Regions from separate parts of the Homo sapiens genome. Here region 1 is linked to region 2. Evidence: promoter capture Hi-C in 16 types of primary human blood cells and fetal thymus (Javierre and others, 2016). All regions are on one chromosome and are shown on one strand. Each heading gives the region's core, a stretch centred on a gene start or on the middle of the fragment in contact. The rest is flanking DNA. Distances are from core to core; before and after follow the strand shown.

Evidence for each region. Contacts are between HindIII fragments. The CHiCAGO score rates a contact against its expected background, and 5 or more counts as called.
Region 1: a fragment that was not itself captured here is called in contact with the fragment with the promoter of PDE2A in region 2 in 1 of 17 cell types (naive CD4 T cells); the score reaches 5.5 in naive CD4 T cells.

What each region holds. Positions count from the first base shown.
Region 1 is chr11:73,202,391-73,208,334 of GRCh38, forward strand. No RefSeq gene overlaps it. Among named protein-coding and RNA genes, the nearest start is that of P2RY2, 13 kb to the right of the region's middle. The HindIII fragment of the contact is 1,142 bases long and covers 3,359-4,500 here.
Region 2 is chr11:72,670,571-72,677,107 of GRCh38, forward strand. PDE2A (phosphodiesterase 2A) reads right to left here and starts at 3,852. Exons shown (of 31, transcript NM_002599.5): 1 at 3,567-3,852. The coding sequence starts at 3,637. RefSeq lists enhancers at 2,421-3,047, 3,048-3,673, 3,674-4,300, 4,301-4,925, 5,076-5,576 and a silencer at 6,437-6,486. The HindIII fragment of the contact is 6,386 bases long and covers 2,195-6,537 here.

The sequences.
Region 1 (5,944 bases), core at 2,680-5,179, 530 kb after region 2:
TTCTTAGAAGCTCGGAGAAGTTGCAATCAGATAGGACTTGAATGTGAGACCGCCTGAGACTACCAGGTCCATCTGGGTTTTGCTGCCCCCATTCACCCCGAAACAGCTGTTTTCTCCTAGAGTGGGGGCTCAACCTCATGGAGACACCATGGGAACAAATGGCTCTGACATCTAGAGTCCAATGTACAGCTGTGTCCTCACATGAGACCAGAGGAACAAGGGTCAGTGGAGACTCAGGGTTTCGGAACCTGCTCTCAAGAAACGGTGTGGCGCTGCCTGTCACTTGAGTGTTTTATGGGTACAGACACAAGGAAAGGCAAAACTAGAAATATATATACACTCACAAATAAAAGATTTCTATTTTTAAGTATATAAGAAATATGTTATATATATAATTATATGCATCAATAGATAAATAAATAAAAATTAAAATCTAGATATTTATACATATAAATTTGTAGCACCGTCTGCCAATCTGGTGGCATTTCCCCATATATGTGAGAAGAAAAAGAAATGTACGTATGTGACCAGGCGCAGTGACTCACGCCTGTGATCCCAGCACTTTGGGAGGCCAAGGAGGGCGAATCATGAGGTTAGGAGTTCGAGACCAGCCTGACCAACATGGTGAAACCCGTCTCTACTAAAAATACAAAAATTAGCCAGGCGTGGTGGTGCGTGCCTATAATCCCAGCTACTCAGGAGGCTGAGGCAGGAAAATCACTTGAACCTGGGAGGTGGAGGTTGCAGTGAGCTGAGATCGTGCCACTGCACTCCAGTCTGGGTGACAGAGCAAGACTCCCATCTCAAGAAAAATAATAATAAAACATAAATAAAGAAATGTATATATGTATACACACACACATACACATAAAATATCCATTTATGTATACTTATACATTTCGCTATTATATATGTATATATATAACTATATAAAGTAATATATACTAATATAAACATCTATGGATAAAATAAACACAAGCTAAACATACACACACATACACACACACACACGCAAATGCACCTGCATTTATACCAGGGGCCATTAGGCCCTTTTGCAACCTACTAGCAGCGACAGGAGCCAAAGAAGCCACAGAAGTCTTTCCCTGCCAGTTCCATGTAATCCCATGCTGATGGCAAACACCTGGCCAGCGACTTTAGGGGCCAAGGGAAAACTTCCCCTTTGCCCTCTAAATATTTGCTGAAACATCAACTGACCAAAGGCAGATGAATAGGAGAAAAGGCAGACACATTCATTAATGTGCATGAGGGAGAACTATCGAGTGGCGATTCCAAGCCCCCGATGGGGTACAGAAGCTCATATATCCTTTTCATAGGGGAGGGAGAAGATAGGAATGCAGACAATTTTTTGAGGGGTGGTAAATAATTATTAAGGAGAATGAATGGACCAGAAAGACAGAAAAAAAAGGGCAGGTGGACAACAAGACCACAGAGGGCCTTTCTATCCTTTAGATTCAAAGATTCTCCCATTTCAGGACACTCAGATATGGACAGCGGACAGGGGTAGAGGCGGGGCAGTGGGTTGGTGCCTTCCCCACCCTGGGTCAGAGGCTGTCAGAGCCTAGGCCCACCCACTCATGGTGTAACCATGGGTATCCTGGCCACATGCCAACGACATGGTGTTTATGTGGCTCCCGATGAACCTTCCTTCTCCTGAGGGTGGGGGAGCCTGGCCCCTGGGCTTAGGGTACACCTCTCTCTGAACTAAAGAAACATTTCCTGGCAGGGCACAGAGGCTCATGCCTGTAATTTCAGGACTTAGGGATGCTGAGGGGGGGCAGATTGCTTGAACCCAGGAATCTGAGACTAGCCTGGCAAGATGGCAAAAACCCATCTCTACAAAAAAATAAATAGAAAAATTAGCTGGGCATGGTGGGGCACACCTGTAGTCCCAGCTACATGGGAGGCTGGGGTGGGAGGATCACTTGAGGCCAGGAGGTTAAGGCTTCAGTGAGGCATTATCACACCACTGTACTCCAGCTTGGATGACAGAGAGAGATCCTGTCTCAAAACAAACAAACAAAAAAAGTAAAATGAGAAAGAAGAGAAATTTTATATCATGTGCTGGGGGGAAGGGGTTGTCCAAGCTGGGCACTGGGCACACAGAAGATAATTATCAATTTCTGCTTTTGGATAGAGGCAAACAGACCCAGGCCCAGCCCAGGAGGCTTGGTGCTGAGGCAGGGGGACACTTCAAGAATGCAGGAGCCAGAGGAAGGGTCCCAACTCTAGGAACACATGCCCAGGGAATTTGGAGGGCTAATTCTTCCTTCCCTGCCAGTTCCAGGAAGGTCTCCAATAGCCTTTGGGGCCCACACTGGTGGCCTCAGAACAGCTAGGGGTATGCTGAGTCTGCCCGCTATCCAGGCCCCAGATACAGAGTCATGGGCAGCCCGGCTTGTCCTGCTGGACATCAGGAGCGTCACGGCTGCCTCATATGGCCCGTTGGGTAACTGGGAAGAGGCTGACAGTTTGTGGTTGTTGAGTAACCACTGGGCTTCCTGAAACTTCTAGTTTCTTTCAGGACCACTCCCCATCTTCCTCTTTCAGGGCCGGGCTGAGGGCTGGGGAGTATTCGCATGCCCACATTCATTTATCCATTCATTCAACAGTCTCTGCTCACCACCTCCCCTGCTCCTGCCCTGGCCTGGGCTTGGGGGGACCCAGAGAGACGTCCATAGGGTTCTGCCCTCCTGGATTCTCTGGCTCAGACGATGGCCCCATCATATACTCCTGCAGCCAAGGCAGAAATCCAGGCATCAGCCCGGACTCTTCCCTCACGCCCCCTCGTGTGCCCCCTTCTGTTTTCCTGCAGTGCCCTGATGTCCTCTGTTGCATTGTTTATCATCTTTTATTGTAAAGGCTCCAATTGTCCATTTCCCCATCTAGATGCAATGAAGGCAGAGGCTGTGTCTATCTTGTTCCCTGCTGTATTCTGGGCACCTGGCACAGTGCCTGGCACTTAACAGGTGCTAATTAAACACTGTTGATTGAATTACTTAGTCCCTTTGATTCCATTTGCTTGATACTCATTGAATCCATACCCTCCTGTCTCCCCCAGCCGCAGTCTTTGCTCAGATAATTCCACCTGGGCACTGGAGCAGTTTTCTGACTGGGCTGCTTATCTTACCTCCACCATTCAGTCTATTTTCCACATTATAGCTGGAGTGGTCATTCTAAAGTGCCCATCTATCCTACTCTGAATCCTTCCCTGGCTTCCCATTACTTACAGGAACAAGGACACTTTCCTGGGATGATAAAAAAAGGACAGCAGATATGACTGATGAGACTAATCTCCATATCCTGTGAAAATGCTCAAGAAGATATGCAGAAATCCAAAAGCTTGCAGTGATGCTTTAGAAACTAAAGATAAGAGAAGATCACAGGGTAAAGTGCAAGGGAGAAATTGCGCTAACCAGATGGTAGATGGGGCCAGATTGAGAAACACATTCTTAGACAACACACCACCTGCTACTCCCTTTGGAACAGAACAGCATGTGTCATCTGTGCCGTTAACTGACCATGTCTTATCCCCCACCTTTCAAGGCCTTTAAGGACAAAGACCATATCTAATTTATCTTGGTATCTCTGGCACCCGGCACAGGACTTGACACATAGTAGGCACTCAATACATATTTATTGAATGAATCAGAGGATTAAATGAATTAATGAATGAAGAACCGAAGGTTCCAAAGTAGATAAGAGAGACTAATCCCCACTGCCTACACCAGTCTCAGAGACTCAGGGGCAGCAGTGACCAGATGGATGTTTGGTCATGGCTTAACAACACAGAAATTATCTTCCAAGCCGGTCAGAATGATTGAGGGAATGGATTCTGGGATCAGATCATGTAGGTAGTTATGGTTCCACCAGATTTTAGCTGTGTGAGCTTGGACAAGTTATATAACCTCTCTGTGCCTCACCTTGGTCATCTGTAAAATGGAAACAGTAAAAGTACTATTTACAGGAATGTTGTACTGTTTACAGTACTGTTTACAGAAATGTTGTGAGAACTAAATTAATGTGTGTGCATAAATTTAGCACATATGTATTTAGTGTATATATATATACACAAATGCACACACATAATACATGAATTTACATACACAGAGTGCTGTTCAAGTGCCATGATATGATGATGAAAATTCCCCTAATCGACCCCGGTCAGCTTCTTTTTCTGTGTCTACACTGGCTGTCCAATGGTGGAACTGAGACTTCCACAATTATTGAGCTTTACTGCATAAGGTTGAAAGGATCAGGGGGCAGTCCTTAGCCTGGCTTTATTTCCGCCTGATCAAGAGAGAGTGAACAAAAACAATCAATATGGAATCTGTGAGAAGATCTCACAGCACCGGCAGGAAGAAAATTGTCCCGAAGGTTCAGATGAAGAGTTTATTATCTCAGAAATGATTTTCTGTAAGAAAGAATAAAACTCTAAAAGTCATCTGTTTGGTATTCTCAAAACAAACAAACAATCCAGGAAGCTTTGATTTAGTGGTTATTTGCTGAGTACCTCCCAAGTGGGCAAAAGATATGAATAGGCAGTTCATCTAAATGAAGATGCAAATGGCTTTCAAATATATGAAAAGATGGTTGGTCTCACTCATAAGAGAAATGCAAACCACAACTACAGTGAGCTATGATTTCTCACCTATCAGACTGGCAAAAATCCAAGAGTTCCATATGAAAGGTTATGAGGCCATAGGGATTTTACTTTGAGGAATTCGCCCCTCCTTCATTTTCAGCCCTGTTGTTTAGCCGAGATTTCCTCCACTCCAGCTCTGGGGTTGCCCTGCCTGGCTTAAGCTTGCTAATTTCTCATCATCCAGAGATCATTAAAAATTATTAGGCTGGGCACGGTGGCTCATGCCTGTAATCCCAGCACTTTGGGAAGCTGAGGTGGGCAGATCACCTGAGGTCAGAAGTTCGAGACTAGCCTGGCCAATATGGAGAAACGCCGTCTCTACTAAAAATACAAAAACTAGCCGGGCGTGGTGGTGTGTGCCTGTAATCCCAGCTGCTCGGTGGGCTGAGGCAGGACAATCACTTGAACCCAGGAGGTGGAGGTTGCAGTGACCCGAGATTGCGCCACTGCACTCCAGCCTGGGCAACAGAGCAAGACTCCGTCTCAAAAAAAAAAAAATTATTGGGCGACCTTGGGCAAACTACTTAAACATGCTGAGCTTTAGTTTCCTCATCTGTACAATGCAGACAAAAGTAGAGATCCATTAAACACAGCCAGTACAGTGTAAAAAACAGCACCTTCTACTGACTTTGGTAATTTGATAAATATACATTTAAGTATATGTGGTTGACTAATCTAAAGATTTAAAAAGGCCAGGTGCAGTGGCTCACGTCTGTAGTCCCAGGACCTTAGGAGGCTGAGGCAGGTGGATAACTTGAGGCCAGGAGTTCGAGACCAGCCTGGCTAACATGGTGAAATCCCATCTCTACTAAAAATACAAAAATCAGCTGTGTGTGGCAGCGTGTGCTGGTAATCCCAGCTACTCGGGTGGCTGAGGCATGAGAATTACTTGAACCTGGGAGGTGGAGGCTGTAGTGAGCTGAGATCCCACCATTGCACTCCAGCCTGGGTGACAGAGCGAGATCCTGTCTCAAAAGAAAAAAAGGTTTAAAGAATTACAAACTTGATCTTCACCTTCAAAATCATTATAGAAGCTAAAAGCAAGAAAAGCCTAAAAAGTATAGCAAAGAACAAAAAATAAAGCAATAAGGAAGCACAAAAATGAAGCAAAATGAGGCCACATTATTATGAAATATATATAAACAAATTAAGCTAAGTTATTGAAGGCAAATATTTTTATATTCTCATGTTTAAAAACAAAAGTCAACTACATAATATGCTGCTTACAAGAAATACTTAAAATAATACAGAATATCCAAATACATGTATTAAAGATAAACG
Region 2 (6,537 bases), core at 2,602-5,101:
ACTCCCTTATTTGACCATGCCTGCTTCTTTATCATTATTTTTGGAGAGGAGTCAGGGCCTGCACCCATCTCAGATTTTTGTTAATAAAGGCTGCGCATTTCTCCCACTCTCTGCCTAGATGTGTTCTTGCCACTCCTGGATCATTGTGCCCCAGCCTGGCCCTACTTCAGGGGACAGTGACACAGGACGGAGAAAGGACATAAGGCCAGGCTGGGTAGCCTGGAGTTGCTGGGCCCTGCGGAGAAGACCCAGGACAGATATAACCACCACAAGGGAAGGGCTGCCCAGGAGGGAAGAGATGAACATCCTATGTCCGGGGGTATACAAACAGCAGGCTGGATAGATCTGCAGGGCAAGTTGTAGAGAGTACTAAAACAACTGCTAGAAAATGACCCAAACGCCCTTACTGTCTTCTCCCACCCAGAGGCTGCACTGAGTCAGGTGCCTAGCCCTGTGCCTTTCCTACCCACCTTCACAAACTGTTCCCTCTGCTCTTCCCTGCCTGGGTGATTCCTACCCATCCTTCAAGGTCCGGCTCAAATGTCTCTTCCTCTGAAGCCCAGGCTTGCTGTGGGCCCCCCACCTCCTACACAGCACTGCTCACCCTGTAGGGTTGCAGCTTTCCATTTCTTTCTCCTTCATCAGACTGGGCACTCCCTGAGAACAGGGACTCAGTCAGTGTCTGCTCTGTGTCCCCGGTGACAAGCCAAGTGGGCACCAAGCAGCTACTGAGAAGTTCCTGTTGAGTGGTTGAATGAATGAATGCAGCAATGGAATCATGCTGAGTCGGGAGATTTCATAGGCCCAAGCAGCAGAAGCCCGGGGAGCGCAGGCCTGGCCTGACAGCAGCATGGCTGAGGGTGAGACTCCCAGTCCATTAAGACCAAGGGGTAAAGGACTGCTGGGAGCTCTTCCCCCCACCCCCGCCCCCACCCCCCACCATTTGGCTAGATCCCAGCCAAGCCATCAGCAGTCCCTGGGGACAGGAGGCTGGAGTGGGAAGCAGGAAGAGTGGCAGGAGCTGCTTGGTGGGCAGGGGGAATGACTGCGGGGGGTGGGGGTGCAGGGAGCATAAAGACAATTAACCCTCACTGAGCTGACCAAGCTCAGCAACCAAGAGGTTCCGGGCAGGGCCTGAAGGAGAATGATATTGAGGGTCAGGTCTGATGAAGAGGTTGAGCCCCAGCCTTGCAGCCAAAGGGTAGTGATGAAGCCATAGTCTCAGTTTCCCTGTCTGGCAAGAGATGGCTCCATGATCTCTGACCCTCTGCATCCTAGCTAGAAACACTACAAAGATCTCTCCCACTACCTCAGCCCACCCACGCCCAGCTTTCCTGAGCCTTCCATGAGCCTTTTCCCTCATGAGATCCTGACTTACTGAGATGTCTGCACTACACCCCTGACCCCAGTCCAAGCCTGAGCCACCTAGACATTCCCTTCCCTGTTCTCATCTATCCAGCCTTTCCCAAGTTCTCAAAAAGCTCCAGAACTCACTGACCCCTGTATTGGCTTGGCCTCCACTCTAGCCTCCTGGCCCCACCTCTCTCTTCCAGTTCAACCCAGACAATGCCACCGAGGCAGGTTTCTTTATTTTTCTTCTTCTTTTTTTTTTTCTTCTTTTGAGACAGAGTCTCACTTTGTCACCCCCAGGCTAAAGTGCAGTAAGGCAATCTCAGCTCACTGCAACCTCCACCTCCCAAGTTCAAGCGATTCTCATATTCTCATGCCTCAGCCTTCTAAGTAGCTGGGACTACAGGCGTGTGCCACCACACCCAGCTAATTTTATTGTATTTCTAATAGACACTGGGTTTCACCATGTTGGCCAGTCTCGTCTCAAACTCCTGGCCTCAAGTGATCCACCTGCTTCTGCCTCCCAAAGTGATGGGATTACAGGCATGAGCCACCATGCCTGGCCCAGGGCAGGTTTCTAGAACCCAAATCTGATCATGTCTCTCCCCTATATAAAACCTTTCTGGGCTCCCCAGGGCTCTCTGGATAAAGCCTAAGAGTCCTGGATCTTAAAGTTCTATTGAATGTGGGTCCTGCCTGCCCCCCACTCTATACAGTGTCTTCACTGCTCCAGGACATGCCCAGCCCAGGGCCTTTGCTTATGCAGTTCCCACCCCACCCCCACCTGTTAGCATGACGTTGATCTCTACTGCTTAATTATTCTCAAGCTATTTTATGTCTAAGAAGCTTAGGAAGCCCCAGAGGGCAGAGTCATTATTGCCTATTTCTTTTCTGCATCTTTCCCACAGGGTGTAGAATGAATTGTCCTGAGTTCAAAGAGGCGGTCATACATTCAGCCCCTCCCTGCCCTGCATCAGTGGGCCATGGTGTCCCAGCTGTATCCTCAATTGCCAGGGGAAGGAAACAGCCACCCACACACACTCAGATGAATACACACATATAGATACACACACACACCAGCCACAGAAGCACCGATATACACACTAGCACCATGATCACACACCCACACCAGAATACTTATACGCACACAGCCACATCCACCTCCACACACAGCAATGCTATTATTCACACACTAACAAATACACACACATAAATGCACATGGAACAGATAAAAAATGCACACTGATTCACTCTATTTTGCAGACACAACACACATAATATACAAACTCAACCTAATAGACACACCTACATACATATGCAGACCAACCTGCACTCACACTCAGACACATGCGAATAAACTCTCACTCACACAGGGATGATCACAAACTCTGACAGGCTGCTTTACATCCAACCACCAAGGACCCTAGAGCTCTACAGGCCCCTCTACACCCAACATGTCCCTTACATTCCACATGTATACACACACACACACACACACATACCCTGCCTACCACCTCGGCAGCCCTTAGTAGAGGGGTGTCGCCACGGCGCCCCCCACTCACTTGCACATGCACCCCCCTGCACGTGGACACACACGAGGCTGGCACCATATTCCATCTGGCTCCGTAGAACCCTATCCTGGGACAGACGCTTTGGGGTAAAGTTTCATAAAGTGGTGTCCCTGAACCCCAATTCCCAATTCCATGGAAGGTGGTTACCTCTAACCCTCTCTTGCTCCAGGGCCACTCTTATTCATATTTTCTCCATCTTTCCCCCTCCCCACCTCCTTCACACACACATAGCCTTGGTGGGCCAAGACACTCTCCCTCTCCGGGTCCTGAACCAGCCTATTGCAGCCCCGAGAGCTCCTCCCAACTACTTGGCAGACCTCCCCCTCCCCACATACACCCTCAGCCCTTGAAGAACCGGTTCAGGTTCATTATCAGCCCCTCCTCCAACCAGCAGCCCCTTCCATGGGACCCCAGCCTCATCACCTACTAGGTTGACGTTAGACACCCTCATTCTGCTCAGAGGTAACCTGCCCCCACCCCAGGCTGCAGTCTGGCAACGCGGGGAGGAGGGGTGCCCAGGAACAGGATCGATCCTTCCACGTGGCTCAGCTCCATGCCAACCCCAGCTCCTTGGAGGGACTCCCAGGACCCTGTCTGTGGCACCTCTCACAGCCGCTCACCACCCCAGCCCCTCACTATACTCACGGCTCAGCCGGTCGCGCTGCCGGGTACTGCTGGCTCCTGCAGAGGATGGAGTGGCCGCATGCCTGCCCCATCACTCCTCATCGTCCGCCTCCCCAGCCAGACTAAGGTGGCACCTCGCCCTGTCCCCGCTGCCTGGAGTTCAGGGCAGGGCACCCCCAGCAGGCACAGGGACCAAGAGCAGTGGGCTGCCCCCTACTCAGCCTGGACTCAACACCCCAATCCAGCTCTGCTGCCCCGCTGCTCCCGCCTCTCCCGCTGCCACTGCCTCTGCTGCTCGGCTGGCTCTGGGAGGAGGTTGGAGCAGGTCTGATAATGCAGAAGGGGGAGGGAGGAGGGAGGAGGAACAGAGAGAGGCCCAGACAGAGAGGGAGAGAGGGAGAGAGGGAGGGGTAGAGAGAGAGTCTGACTGGGAGAGAGGAAAAAAGACTCACAGACAGAGAGACTGAGAGATAAACAGAGACAGGAAGGGGGACAGTAACACATGAAGAGGGAGAGGAGAGAGGGATCAGAGCCTTAGCGAGATCAAGATGGAAGTACAAAGAGACCAGAGAGGCATAGAGAAACACACACACAGAGGAACAAAGGCAGAAAAGGAAAAAAAATCAGAGGCAGAAATAGAAAGAGAGTGGGGTAGGGGGAAAGGGGAGTGGCTGACAGAGGAGAGAGGGGAGAGGACGAGGGATTTACAATCCTCATGGGCTAGGATGGGGCTGGGGACTTGAGGGGCAGCAGACCCAGACCCTCTGCTGCCCCATCGCAGAAGCCTTCAGGATGAGGGGACACGCTTGTGCCCTCAAGTCTGAGAGATCAGGCCTCCATGCACAGCTAGCTGCCCTCTCCTCTGGGCTCCCTCACCCGGTGTGTATCATCTCCTAGCGTGCATCCCAGCCTGGAGCTGGGTCCACGGAAGACTTAGGGGGCTTTACTGATGGCCTTTGGACTCAGAGCCTTGTCACAGGGCCCACCTCTTGGTGGCTTGGTTTAGCTGGGACTTGGAGCTGATGCGTGAGCATGGACTTCTACCAGGATCTGTGGAGACCTAGGCCACAGCCTGCCCCACATGGCCTTCGCTGCTCACAGACTACAGGCATGGGGGAAGGCCTGTTGCACCCCCACCCTGCTTCCAAAGAGGACTCCCTAGGATAAAGCTATAACCTAGTGAAATAGAGGCATTTTAGGCCCTAGGACAGATAGAGAGTTGTCACAGCAGAGCTACTATTGTATGCAGGAGAAACAGCTCCACACCTTGAGGCAGGAAATGGGGATTTGGATCCTGGCTTCACCATTAACTTACTTATTCATTGGCCTACCAGTGGCTGAGCTCATGGCTCACACTATCCCTTGTCTCAGAGAAGCACTCGGGCTGGGGAGTGGGGAGGGGAGACTTGCAGGCTGTGACAGAAAGAAGCACAGGGTCTGTGAAGCCCAGAGGGACCCCTGACCTAGTTTGGGTGGTGGGGGGGCGGTTAGCAAGCATTTCTGGAAGAGAGGGTCCAAGCTGGGTCTTTTAAGGCAGAAGAGGGTATATTCCAGGGTAGAGGAGCTACAGCAAACCCTCCACAGCAACCCCATCTCTCTGAGCTGTGGGGAGAATACCTCCCCGCCACACAACAGGCTTCAAGCAGAGAAGTCCCTGAGGCTGAATAGAAACCTGACCCATGTTGAAGAACATGGGGGTGCACGGTGGAGGGGGCAAGGTCAGAAATGACTGAGCTTGTGTAGATGGCCTGCCCAGGCTGGGTGCTGCAGAAAGCAGTTGTCTTGTGGCCTGGGAAGTGTCAGGAAAGAAAATATGAGGAGTCTTTGCTTCCCACTGTGGCCCCAGAAGGCATCATAGAATTTTAGATCTCTGAACTCTGGGCAAACCATTTTCTCAAAGGGAACGAGGCCCAGGCTGGTTGTAAAGCAGCTGAGCCAGCCCAGAACTCATGTCTTGCTTCTCCACCTCACCTATCACTGGGGCCTCGCTGCTCCATTCCTGACAGCTAGGAAGGCATTCTCTGGGCTCAGGAAGCTGCAGCCCTGGACCATGGCGTCCTGCTCCCTCACAGCTCCCCTTCATGTCCTGGGAACCTGCTCACTGGTCGGAGGAACCTGGCAGCAAGAAGCTGAGTCAGAAGAGTTCAAAGGAGGGTTCCTCCTGGGCATGCATGGGTGCAGGTGTGACGAGGTCTCACCTGGCCCTCAGCCTCCTTTCTGCCCTCCCACTTCAGAAACAATGGTGGTGGCCTCATCTTCAGAAATCTCCTGGGAATACACTCAAGCAAGCAGGTGGAAGGGAAGGTCTCCTCCCCATCCCACTGCCACACCAGACTCCACAGCCACCCAGAAGTGGAGAGTCTGCAGGAACAAACTGCAAGATTCAGGACTCAGAAGGGCTAATGGGCACTCAGGACTTAGAGCCCGGCAGGTGGAATTCAAATCCCAGCTCTGCCAAGTGCCTAGGCAAGGTATTTCACCTTCCTGAACTTCAATTTAGTTTCCTCATCTGAAATATGGGGTCACGAATTCCAAGCTCAAAAGGTTGTGAGGTTTTGGGAATGTCTGAAAAGTTCCCAGTAAATAGTTGCCCCTCTCCTCCCATCTCATTTCCTGAAGTCGTCAGGAGAGTAATAGCCCCAAATGCTGGGATAGGGGCTCCTGTAGGCCAGTGCCGGGATGGGGGAGGTGCATAAAGGGGAGAGAGCTGGAGAAAATCCAAGATTGTTTTTCCCTCCTCCATCAATTGCCTGCCTGCAAGACCGCTCCCAGACGGAGCCAAAGGCCCGACTGCTCTGACTGCGCGCCCCTACCCCCGCCGCAGGCCCCGCCCCGGCCACAGGCCTCTCTCCAGGGTGCTGAACCCTGCGAGCCGTGTTCACAAGACCTGCCCGCCCCGCCGCCCTGCCGGGAGTCAAGAAACACCGTTTTTTGTTAGCTGGGGAACTGGAGGTGGGATGGCAGGAAGGATGCTCCTGGGAGGTAGGGTGGC